Regions from separate parts of the Homo sapiens genome. Here region 1 is linked to region 2. The links are contacts of gene promoters, found by promoter capture Hi-C in blood cells and fetal thymus (Javierre and others, 2016). All regions are on one chromosome and are shown on one strand. The core of a region is centred on a gene start or on the middle of the fragment in contact, and the rest is flanking DNA. Distances in the headings are between cores, read along the strand shown.

Region 1 (6,270 bases), core at 3,135-5,634, 1.6 Mb after region 2:
CATCTGAAAGTAGCTTAGAAAGAAACCATATGCTCTTATCATCTCTTGCAGAAGTTGCAGACAAGTTATTTAAAAATCTCGTTTTCTTAAACTGTCTTTATTGCAAAGAAAAGAGCCTCTGGGATCCACTTCAAGTAGTCATTGTGGAGGGTACAGCAAGCCAGCCCTGGGCTAAGCATTTACCCCACTAATTCACCACCACAGCAAGGTGGAGATCCTTGAGTTTTTGCCTGTGTTTCACAAATGAGGAATCCGAGGAGCAGAGACCTGAAGTGACCTGTCCAGGACACAAGAGTGAACCCGGGGACAAAGCCAACCCGCTCTGCTGGGGCTAGTGCCTTTCCACACTCCTCTGTTTCTATATTTAAACCGAGTGAAAGGAGACATGGAAAATACATTAGCCCATTTGGAGGTGAATTTGATACACTCTCATTTGTCATAGAGGGTAGAAAAAGATGGAAAAGAGAAACGGGCTGGTGGGGAGGAGGGAAGAGCAGAGACCAGGGCCTCAGCCCAACCTCCATCCGCTTCCCACTTTCTCTCCCTGTCCCTTTCCTGGAGGCCTTGCTTGCTCCTCACAAAGCTGTCATTCTTATGCCTTGCATGAATTTGGGTATTTTAACTTGTCTATTAAAAATATAAATCTGGCCCCATATATATGCTTAATTAATATTATCATGTATCCCCTTCAAAATACTCTGTGGCCAAAGTTTGTGCCCTTTTATGCAGGATCGGGAATGGATTCCCTAATAAATGTCTTGCATTTTTCCCATCACAAAATGTAGTTAAATTAGCGTCTCTTCATCCTAATTTTATTTCTCCATTTGGACAAAGCATCTTCACTTCCAACAGCTGAGCTTTTCAAAGATATTTATTTCTGTGTAGAATTAAAAAAAATTGAATATTACCATTTCTGAAAATAAGTAACTCAAAACTTTCCTTTAAAATTATTGCAAAAGTTTCATAAATTCAGTTAGATATATGCTTAGGGAAAATACAGAGTTTGAAGGAATTTTTAAAAGACCACATATTCTATAATTCTGTTTATATGAAAGTTTTAGAACAGGCAAACCCATGGAGACATCGAGTAGATTGGTGGTGGCCAGGGACTGGTGGAGGGAGGTGGCAGGCAAGAGAATGGCTGCTGACGGGTATGGGGTTCCTTTCAGAGTAAAAATGTTCTAAAATTACCTTGTGGTTGTGGTTGCACAGCACTGAGACTATACTAACTGGCATGTACGGTTTATTAATTATATTTCAACAAAGCTATTAAAATATTCAGTTTCCAAAAATATATCAGTGCATGTAATTGCAATATGTTTAGATCTACCGGAATTTAATGAAATCTAGTAAGTAATGTCTAGTTAATACACTTCCATGGGGATTTGCATTTTATATGTGTTTAAGTTACTCTTCTGAATTTTTTTTTTTCCAGTTCTTATCAATGCTTCACAAGGTTGGAATTCCAGCTGTTAAACTTACTATAGGCCAGGTGCAGTGGCTCACGCCTGTAATACCAGCACTTTGGGAGGCCAAGGCGGTCAGATCACTTGAGGCCAGGAGTTTGAGACAAGCTTGAGCAACATGGCAAAACCCTATCTACACTAAAAATACGAAAAAATAATTAGCTAGGTGTGCTGGCATGTGCTTGTAGTCCCAGCTACTTGGGAGGCTGAGGCAGGAGAACCACTTGAACCCAGGAAGTAGAGGCTGTAGTGAGCTGAGATCACGCCAGTGCACTCCAGCCTGGGCAACAGGAATGAAACCCTGTTTGAAGAAAACAAAACAAACAAAATCCAAAAAACTTACTATGTAGCCTTGGGCAAAGTGACTTTTCAAAGCCTTGTATTCTTTATTCTCAAATAATACAACCAGCACCTCCCCCATTACACACATACACCGGTGTACACACACACACAGACACACACAACCAGCACATAATTCTTTTTTGCAAAGACTTCTTAGAAAGATAAAAAAGAGATAAGTACTAGTTTTTCATACATATGTATGCTATGAGAACCAGTCAATAAAATAAAACAACAAATAATATACATTGTAGCTTCTTAAGAATCTTCAGCTTTTAAAGTCCCAAGTCTTTCCAGGGCTCCCAGAGCCCCAGTGACTCCTCACCAACAGAGATGGGATCCCGGAAGAGCCGGGATCATGATTGGAGGGAGAAAGATACGGAGACCCCAGTCTGTGCCAGAAGAATTTCCTGAATTAACGTTTTTATCAGGATGAAGTGTGGATTATCAAGTTTGTTAGAATAAATGGTAGGTTTCGGTGATTCTTTTAAGATGAAAATTGATTAGGATTGGGTAAAGCCTGTGGTGTGATCTTGTAAGGTTTGTGGACAGAAGACAAGAGTTTCGAAGTGAGCCTTCACAAGAACATTGCTACTTGGTAAATGAACTTTTTGCTCAGATTAGCAACATGTTGTCCTGATAGAGAGAAGTTTGCACAGATAAACAAACTGTCTTGATAAACTGAGTTATAGGAATGCCTTGAAACAAATATTAGAGTTTCATGCAAAATGTCACTTCATGTTTGAGTAAAATTACACAGAAAACCAACGTATATGTCACAAGACACTGATACCAAGAGTCTGGCTATCGCACAGAGACAGTGAGACCAAGCCTAGGAGTGATTCTGATTGTCAGAATGAGCCCCATTGTGAGAATATCAAACCAGAAATTAGACTCATGACAAGAAGCCACTAGGGATGAGCTAGTGGCTCATAATAGTAGGGGGAGGAACATTATAGACACCATTGCTGAGAGGCAGCAGGTGCCTGTTAACAGAAAAGAACCATACGTAGGCAACATGCCAAGAAAATGCCCAGGAAAACAGGGAAGGAAAGCCCCCAGATTCGAGGATGACACTCTAGAGCCAGTCATCTGGCACACTTGCAGTGGGTATTGGCGGAAACTTCACTTCTCACAATTTTCTCTTTCTTTTGAAATAAGTTGTCTTCATCTGCGTAATTTGGGTTCTCCAGAACATCATCTGCTCTGGTACATTCCTGACTATCTTTGCTGTAAATGTTTCTGACGGGACAGGGGACCAGGTGTTGTACCTGGGTGACATAACTCTCAGGTTAATTGTGGACTAGTGGCCAAAAGCAAAGTATGGTCTTCCTTCCATGTGAATCTAGGGCATGTTTTTTCTTTTCATCTTTTCTTATAAGACAACATTTCCAGGTCTTAGGTCTAGTGGAAGCTGCTTCGGAGCCATGGAGAAAAGGCAGCCTGCGCTGATTGACCATGAGCCTAAGTACACTGCATGAACCTTTGGAAGTACCTCTTCTATGTCTGCCTGAAGTAAGATAAAGTTGAAATTTTGGGGTAAATACTTTGCATAATGGCGAACCTGTGATAGTTTCACATGGTGAGAGTTTATAGGGCTCTCAGGGAGTGTGGACTCATGAGACTAGTGTGACATCTTTACCAGGGAAGCTACGCCAGATGCTTTGGATGGCTTTAGCTCTGTGGTGCCACTGGATGCCTCAAGGTTCTGAGCAGGCAGAAGGCTTCTTTCAGAGCTCTTCAGTGACAACTCCAGCAAAACTAGAACAATGAATTCATTCTTTACATTGGGAGCCAGCATAATTATGCTTATTTATATGTTTGCTTTCTCTACCATACAGTCCATAAATCTCCAACCAGTAAAACTCCAAGTAAATTCTGAGAAAAATTAAACAATGACCAGGACACAGTCAAAACTCATTATACAGTGTAGTCATATGAAATTCAAAAAGGGGCCCAGGTTCTGTGTGTAGAGGCTCGGGCTCCTGTGCTTTTTCCATTTTTCAGTTTTATCGGTGTCATGCTGTTGACCTGTAGACGTGCTCCAGGGTTGTGTTCAGCAAGTGTGGCAGTGTCCTCACTGGTATTGATTGAGTGCAGTGGCTGAGCCTTCTTTGCTGTCTGGGTAAATTATGTAAAATCATGTGCAAGCTTCTATTGGAGGTCCTCTGGCACCACCAAGTGGCTGGCCTGACAGCTCCCAGCCTGCCCGGCTGAGTTCCCCACCAGATTCACACTTCTCTTCTCTGATTCTGGAGCAACATTTCTGAGTTGTGTCATCATTTGTAATCAGTTAGATTCATTTGTCACAGTCATCCTTCTAGTTTGAGATTTCCTCAAATCCTAGTTGAGTTTTTATTTACTTTGCATACGATAAATTTGACTTTTTAGCTTTTCCATGTCTTTCCACAACACAGAAATGCAGTCAAAAATCTTCCACCCACTACCACACAGAACAGTTCCATCACTCATCAACCCATCCCCAAACCCTTAGAAGCCCTGCCCCCTTTTCCGTTCCTACATTTTTGCCTCCTCCAGGATGTTATATAAGTGGAACATGTAATATGCAGCCTTTGGGTGCTGCCTTTTTCACTTACCAAAATGCAGTTAAGATTCATCTACATCCTGTGAGTCGGTTACTCACTCCTTTCACTGTTGAGTAGCCTTACGTCGTGTGAACACACCACAGTCTGTTTCTCCACTCGTGTTGAAGGACAACTTGGTTGTTTCCAGTTTGAGGTGTTATGAATAAAACTGTTATAGACATCTGCAAATTGTTTTTTGTGTGAACACAGTTTTCCATTCACTTAGATAAACATCTAGGACAGGACTTTGTGGGCCATGAGATGATTGTATGTTTATCTTTATAAGAAATGGGCAATCTGTGATCCAGGGGGTGTGGACGTCCAAGTAGAATACTACTTTTGTATTCCCACCAGCAATGGGAATTCTTGTGGTTTCACATGCCTATCGACATTTGGTGTTGTCAATTTTATTTTAAGCTTTAACTTTAGTAGTACTTGAGGGTAATAGGGAGAGAGAGAAAAAATTCTGGATATAAGTACTTTATCAAATATGAAATTTGCAAGTAATAGCTCCAAGTCTGTGGCTTGCTTTTTTACCATATTTACAGGTCGTTTGCAAAGCAAACACTTTAAATTTTGTTAAAGTCAAATTTTAAAAATTCTTCTTTCATTGAGCATGCTTTTGGTACTGTATCTTAAAACTCACCACCAAAACCAAAGCCATGCAGCTTTTCTGTTATGTTTTTTTTCTAGAAGTTGTATGGTTTTGCATTTTACATTCAAATCTATAATCCACTATGAATTAATGTTTGTATATGGAAAAGGTATATATTGGTCCTATTTGGGACATTTGCATATCAAATGTTCCAACACAATTAACTGAAAGGATTCTCTTTCTTTCCTAACATGACTTGTACCTATGCCAAAAGTCACTTGTCAATATATGTCTGAGTCAATTTCTCTATTCTTACTTTTGTTCCATTGATTGCCTATCCCAGTGCCAATGCCACATTTTATTGTTTACTGTCACGTTATAGTGTCTTAAAATCAAGTTATGTGAGTACTTTACTTTTGTTGTTTTGTTCATTTTCCAGAATTTTGTTTTGTTTTTCTTGCAGAATTTTTGTGATTATTATAGTTTCTTTGCCTTTCTACATGAATTTTGATTCAGCTTGTTGTTATTTACAAAGTAGACTTGCTGGAATTTTATTGAGATTGCATTGCTCAAATCAGGGAAAATGGGAGAATGGACATCTTTGAAATATTAAGCCTCAAATCCATGAAACTGCATATTTCTTCATTTACTTAGATATTTCTTCCTTCTTTCATCAGTGTTTTGTAGTTTTCAGCATACAGACGCTGCACCTATTTTGTTATATTTATACCTAATGCTTCATTTATTTTAGTACGATTTAGTGCCTTTTAAATAGTATTGTGTATATTTGAGGTTTACAACATGATGCTATGAAATATAGATGGTAAAATGGTTACAGTGGTGAAACAGATTAACATATCTATTATCTCACATATTTTTTGTGACAAAGGCAGCTAAAATCTACTTATTTAACAAAAATCCTTAACATGGTATAATTTTATGAAGTTTGGCCCTCACGTTGTGCATCCAGTCTCCGGAACTGTTGTCCCACCTACCTTCTATGATATTTTGATCCCTTTGACCTACATCCCCCCATGTCCTCTTGCAACCCCCACCCATGGAAACACTGTTACACACTCTGTCTCTGTGTGTTTGAGGGTTTTTAAAAAAATATCTCACATATAAGTGAGATCATTCAATTGTTTTCTTTCTGTGTCTGGGTTATTTCACATAGAATCATGTCCTCCAGGCCCAGCCATGTTGTGCAAATGACATTTTTTTTAAAATTCAAATTCCAAATGTTCATTATTACAGGTAGAAACATTTTTAATTTTCATGTAAGTTG
Region 2 (5,964 bases), core at 2,957-5,456:
TCCGCCCACCTTGGCCTCCCAAAGTGCTGGGATTACAGGCGTGAGCCACTGCACCCAGGCTGAAAAATTTTTAAAGTAGATGGGTGGTTGAGAGCTTGAAATGTAAAAGGGGAAAAATAAAACTAGAAAATAATTTGGTGAGGGTGATTTTCAAAATCAAAGACCCTATATAGTCATTTGGAACATTCTCATAAGTGTTTATCAAAAGATTAGGTGTTTCATAAATATATAACTTAGCTTCCAGACTTCCCAAATAAACACCATTGTGCCTATTCAAAGCCTAATAGAACTTCTCAACAAAATAAGGCTTAAAAAACATATTAAACCATTTTCAAAAACAGATCATTAAATGCCCTTCCTTGCCTTTTGATACCATCTCTTGCAGTTCAGATTTCCGCCCTCCCTATTCTCTCCCTCCTGCTATATTACCTGAGGGGAGGCCAAGCCCTGAGCGTAAGGTGGCAGGCTGTTGTTCTGATCCATGATGTTCACTTTCTTCTTGGCAAACCAGAAACCCTTGCGCTGGAACTCGTCTCACTATTCAATTTTTTCCTAGAGCATCTCCAGCACACTCTTCTCAGCAACTTCCTCAATTCCTTGGGTTATCTTCACACGCCAAGAAACAGTGATGCTGCTTTGGAAAAAAGTCTAAAGTTTAATTTAAGGATCCAGGTAACCTGTACAGTCCTATAAGCCAGTTCTATGGCTATACAAAACACAAACATGAAAACCAATGAAGCTATTTTGGAATACATTTGTTTTTACCTTATAATCCTAAAGTTTTATTCCTTCCATGTTTCCGGCGATTGCATGTAAAATCGCCAACAAAACAAAAATCATTTTGTTACATGTTTAAATAATCGGAAAATGCTCAAAATCGAGCTGTCATAACCAGCATTAAAAACTTTTGAGGAAAAACACCTAGAGAAAAATAATTCCTAAGCAAAATGTAATATCAGAGCAGAATATTCACTAAGCACTGTATACACAGCACTGTTAGGCAAAGTTTAGATCTTTAAATATTCCAATTTTACATCCTCTACAATGTCTTGGGCAAAAAATTAAGTAAATATCAAATTCAATCCAATATACTTCAGAGTGATCATTTATCAAGCTCCTACTGTAATGAAACTGTTAAAAAAAAAAAAGCCGCACAAAGATAAAGCCCTGAATTTTTATAAATGTAATAACCTTACCTCTTTAGAACACATTAATGCAAACTGTGCCTGTTATCTGACTTTTCTTAAATCATCATCGCTTTACTCACTACACATCTGAAATGAGTTTATAACAACATATTCTCACATAGAACTTAGAGGTCTCAAAGTTACAAATTATATGTCCAAAGATCCTTCAGGCATATGCACTTCAAGCATGTGCTGGTACAGAACAGACACTCAGATATTTGCTGAATGTATGAAAGACTCTGACGATCACTTTGAAAGGGCAAAGGCCCCCAAAGACTATCTATCCTACATACTCATCACTGAAAAACAGACCAAAAAAGAAAGCAAGCTCTGCTTCTGGAAATAAATATATCAGAGATATTTTTTAAAATATACTTTTTTTTTGACAGTTATCCTATAATAACAATAACAGAAGTCCTGCAGATGAGGATATAAAGATAGGAGGATATAGTCCTTGGCATCAAAGTGTTCAATATGAAGGGTATGCAAATAACTACTGTAAAACATAGTATTATAACAGCAGGTATGGTCTAAGCTAAGTTCCTTGAATGCAGAAACCAGCCTACATGTCTTTGTGATCTCTGCATCTAGCACTATGCCTGGAATACAGTATGTGATCATGAATGAGCCCATATACACCCCTGGAAGAGAAGACAATATAGACTAACAGCCAATCACTGTGAAGAGAGCGCAGTGTTTTCACAAAGCAGGGACCATCTAACTTGGGTCTCACAAGGTGAGTAGGAATTTACACATCAGGGCTTCAGACAAAAGAGAAATCAAGCAGAAAGAGACAGATTGAAAAAGCATGCAGTATGCAGGCAACAAGCTTAGTATGACTGTATAGAAGGTCACTGCAGCAGATGAGACAGCACATATTGGTGGGCTCATACTATCAGGAGTTTTCAATGTTATTGCATAGGCAATAATAACAGTTATGGAATTTCGGAAGTGCAGTATGAACAGATCTAATTTGGCAAGACTAGATGAATTTGAGAGGAGTAAAACTGGAGGACGGAAGTTTCGTTTCAGGAATCTAAGGTTGAGGCAAGAGATAATGACGGCAGGATTTAAAGCCATTATAAGTATGATTAGAGATTTATCCAGGACCTTCGGTGGCTTCAGGCCACTTTTTGCAAGTAAGTCTACAGAAGAAACCGCACAGTGATTACTGCACTAATTTATCCTCAGAAAAGAGTTGTTTGCTGGGTATCTTCATCTCCTGGAAATTGAAACATCAAATCCGATATTTTTTGGAGGCAATCAAATTAATTCTGCATAGCCTTCTAGTGTCTGTATAACTAAATGAAGCACAGTCTTTTCACAGAAAAGTCTACCTAGAGATTTGGAAAACCATGATGGCCTGAACCGAGAGACGGGAGACCCTGCAAATAAAGTGGTGTGTATTATATCTTAAGCGCTACCGTGCCCGCTGTCTCAGGCTTCTGACAAAATATTTAAGTCTCAATGTTGGCAGCAAAACAGGCGGGCACAGATCTGGGTGAATCTGCTTCTAACATGGAGAAGAAGCGGATGGCAGGACAGGGCAGGGTAAACTTAGGGTCTTCGATGCAAGGGACTGTCCTGTCCCGCCTGCCGCCGCCCAGCCAGCCAGTAGTACCCTGAGCCCCACAATCGTACGATGGGAAGCTGCCTGCGAAACACAGCAGAGTAGGGCACCAGGCGGGAGTGGCGGCCGAGTGGCCGTTACAGGCCGGAACGGCGGCAGCACGAAAGGGAGGAACGTCCCCCGAGGGGCCTGCACGCGCGCCAATTCCTAGTCTCTTCCCCACCATTGCCCCCAGGCCTCAGTGCAGTGGTGGCCTTCGCCCGAACCGTCAGAAAAGAGTACAATCTGTTACCTGGGTCACTGCAAAGATCACTATGGGCCAGCGGAAGCGAAGTTAAACAGCCGGCGGCCCAGGCGCCCGCCACAGCGAACCTGCCCGACCTCACTGAACCCCTGGCGCGCGTTGATAATGTCACTTCCGCCAGTTCTGCCCTCGGCTTCAGCGAGTTGCTCCCACTAGGGCCGAGGCCATGAGAAGTGTGAGCATAGGTCACTTCCTGTGTTTCCATAGGTAAGGAGGGGCGAAGCTCTTGAGGAGTTCCGGGGCGGGGCCGCCGTGCCACAGCCATCTCTAATTGGCCCTTGCTGGACGTAGGAAAGATCGATTTTTAAATGGCGTGTGTGTGTATATGTGTGAGTGTGTTTTGTTGTTGTTGTTGTTGTTGTTTAAAGCAACTAGCGGCGTTACCTTCGACAAGTTACCTGACCTCTCCCCCGCATTTTTTTTCTGTAAAATTGAATAATGATAACAGTGCTTACCCTTGGGCTGTCGGGAGATTGACAGAGATTGACAGAATCAGTGCCTGAGCAGTGCTTGGCACTCAGTAAGCGCGTCCTCCTTACCTGTCAGCAAGAACGCTAGCTGATCTTCAAGCGTGTAGAATGACAAGGAACACTAAGCAAAACAAACAGCTTGTGTTTACACATGCATTTATATTCAGTTCTGCCACTCCCAGTTCATGCACTGTTGTCACATGGCTCTTTCCGCAGTTGTTTCTTAGTGGGACTTCAGCACGCCTTGATTTTCCCTTCTGTAGTTCATTGTGGCGTAATCATATGTTATACTGCTTGTTTTCTTTGTACTTTTTATTATCAGTGAGGTTGTGAGCTCTTTAAGGATAGGAAATGTTATATACATTTTTTATTAGCCAGGACAATTAACGTTCCCACCGTTATTCGAGTTGCCGTTGCGCCATAGTTCTGACAATTTTTTTGTATGGTCAGACTTAAATTTTTGTCCATTGGGGTGAATTCCAATGTTTTCTTCGAGGGGGAAAAAAACAAAAAACAAACAAAAAAAACCCTTTACATCCCTGTCAGCGCTTTTTGGAATGGGCGGGATTCAACTACCAAAGGGACAAGCCGCCGTGCAGCCCTCCAGGAGCAACGACTAGCGTGAGATAGAGAGGCCGGGAGCGAACTTCAGGAGAAGCCGGAAGTGGCGTAACGTCCGGTCAAGGCAGCCATCTCGCCGTGAGACAGCAAGTGTCGGATCCGCAGGCGCAGCCGTGCGATGTTGTCCTCTACAGCCATGTATTCGGCTCCTGGCAGAGACTTGGGGATGGAACCGCACAGAGCCGCGGGCCCTTTGCAGCTGCGATTTTCGCCCTACGTTTTCAACGGAGGGTAAAAACCCCAGAGAGCTGCGGCTTTCACTTTCGCCCTTCCCCCATCTGCTGAAGCCTATTTAGGAGTCACCGCCGTGATGGCGCTGCCCCGGGCTCCTGCAGGCCTCAGAACCCTGAGCTGAGGGGGTCCGCACAAGGCCGGTCTCCCTGCCGTCCTCTCATGCCCTGTGTTTCCCTCTTCAGGCTCGCTTTGCTCAAGTTTACTTGGTGATTGCGATACAGCCTTGGTTTTTAGGGTTTCCCATTACAGTCATGTCATTTGAGTTTTTATGTGGACCGCCACTCCGTGCTCCTTGCTGCTGTAAGACAGTAAAGTAGAAATTGAAACATAGCCTCTGCTCTGTGGAAGACCATTAAAACTGGACCTCATGTACACGTTTCTTATGCCAGCCGGCGAGGGTAGAGGGTTAGCGTCTGAAACTTAAAAGTTAGGGTTGTTTGGTCTGTGTTGTTAGATGCATAGCTGGGTTGGTAGCCGAGATGTCTAATTGTAGCCGCCTGATTTCTGTTATTTCTAATTGTAGCAGTTTAATCATTTTGTTTTATTTCAAATAGAAGGTGGGATTGGCTGAGCAAACTTAGTTTCATAGATAAGTGCTTTTTTTTTTTAACGTTTAGCTTAAGTTCAGGAAAACAAAATACTCAGAAGATGGACCTTTTAGTATGTGTGTTCTTGTATGTTATGTTCAAGTTTTGGTTTTTATTTTAATTACCAGCTTTATCTTGAGTAGTATAATTTTCCGTGGTGGCACGCCAGAGATTTAGGGTTATAGAAAGATGCTCTGTTTAAGACTCTTGACAGGGAAGAGCTGTAAATTGAAACAGTGGTTATAGTTACCAATCAAGCCTTGTACATTAAAATATACACACGCAATTTGAACGAACCGATGGTTCTTAAAACAGAAAATATTGGCTGGGCAGTGTGGCTCGCACCTGTAATCCCAGGACTTTGGGAAGCCAAGGCAGGAGGATCATCGCTTGAGGCCAGGAGTTGAAGACCAGCCTGCGCAGCATAGCAAGACCCCATCTCTACAAAAATAAATTTTAAAAACAAAGCAAAAATGTTAATTGGTTCCTCATAAATTTGAAATATAAATGCACATTTTGGGAGTGTGTTAGAAAGATAACGAAAGTCTGATTTTAGCCTTGGTTCTGCCACTAAAGGACACTTTGGGTACTTCTGAACTTCTTGAACCTAAATTTCCTTATCTTCCTTAGTAGCTTCATAGTTTTTGGTGAGAATCAAGAGAGATGCATTTTGTAAATTGCAAGCTGTCATCTTATTTAATCCTCATGAAAAGTGAATGTTAGATGATATTAGCATCCTAGGGTTATATTAGACGTTAAACTGTCAGGGTCAGAGAGCTGGTGTGAAGTTGAGCCAGGACTTAATTCATAGCTATTTCACCACTGAGTTTATGGATGCTTTTCCATTATACACCTTAACACTTCCTGTGATGACTAATTAAGTTGTATATTGTAGGGAGGGTTATTGGACCCGTTTCGTAAGGCTATTCTCTATAAATAAGAATTTTCAGTGTTCAGTATGCCCTACTCGTTACTCACTTTTTAATCCCTT

What was found. Contacts are between HindIII fragments. The CHiCAGO score rates a contact against its expected background, and 5 or more counts as called.
Region 1: a fragment that was not itself captured here is called in contact with the fragment with the promoter of PSMB1 in region 2 in 6 of 17 cell types (M0 macrophages, total CD4 T cells, M1 macrophages and 3 more); the score reaches 11.7 in M0 macrophages.

Annotation. Positions count from the first base shown.
Region 1 is chr6:168,954,790-168,961,059 of GRCh38, reverse strand. LOC105378146 (a long non-coding RNA gene) reads left to right here. Exons shown (of 4, transcript NR_136250.1): 2 at 3,201-3,320. Among named protein-coding and RNA genes, the nearest start is that of LINC01615, 210 kb to the left of the region's middle. The HindIII fragment of the contact is 851 bases long and covers 3,959-4,809 here.
Region 2 is chr6:170,551,549-170,557,512 of GRCh38, reverse strand. It overlaps PSMB1 (proteasome 20S subunit beta 1), which reads left to right and starts at 4,206. Exons shown (of 6, transcript NM_002793.4): 1 at 4,206-4,383. The coding sequence starts at 4,271. TBP (TATA-box binding protein) reads right to left here and starts at 3,144. Exons shown (of 8, transcript NM_003194.5): 1 at 3,050-3,144; 2 at 430-631. The coding sequence starts at 483. RefSeq lists enhancers at 2,874-3,263, 4,074-4,453. The HindIII fragment of the contact is 7,721 bases long and covers 2,019-5,964 here.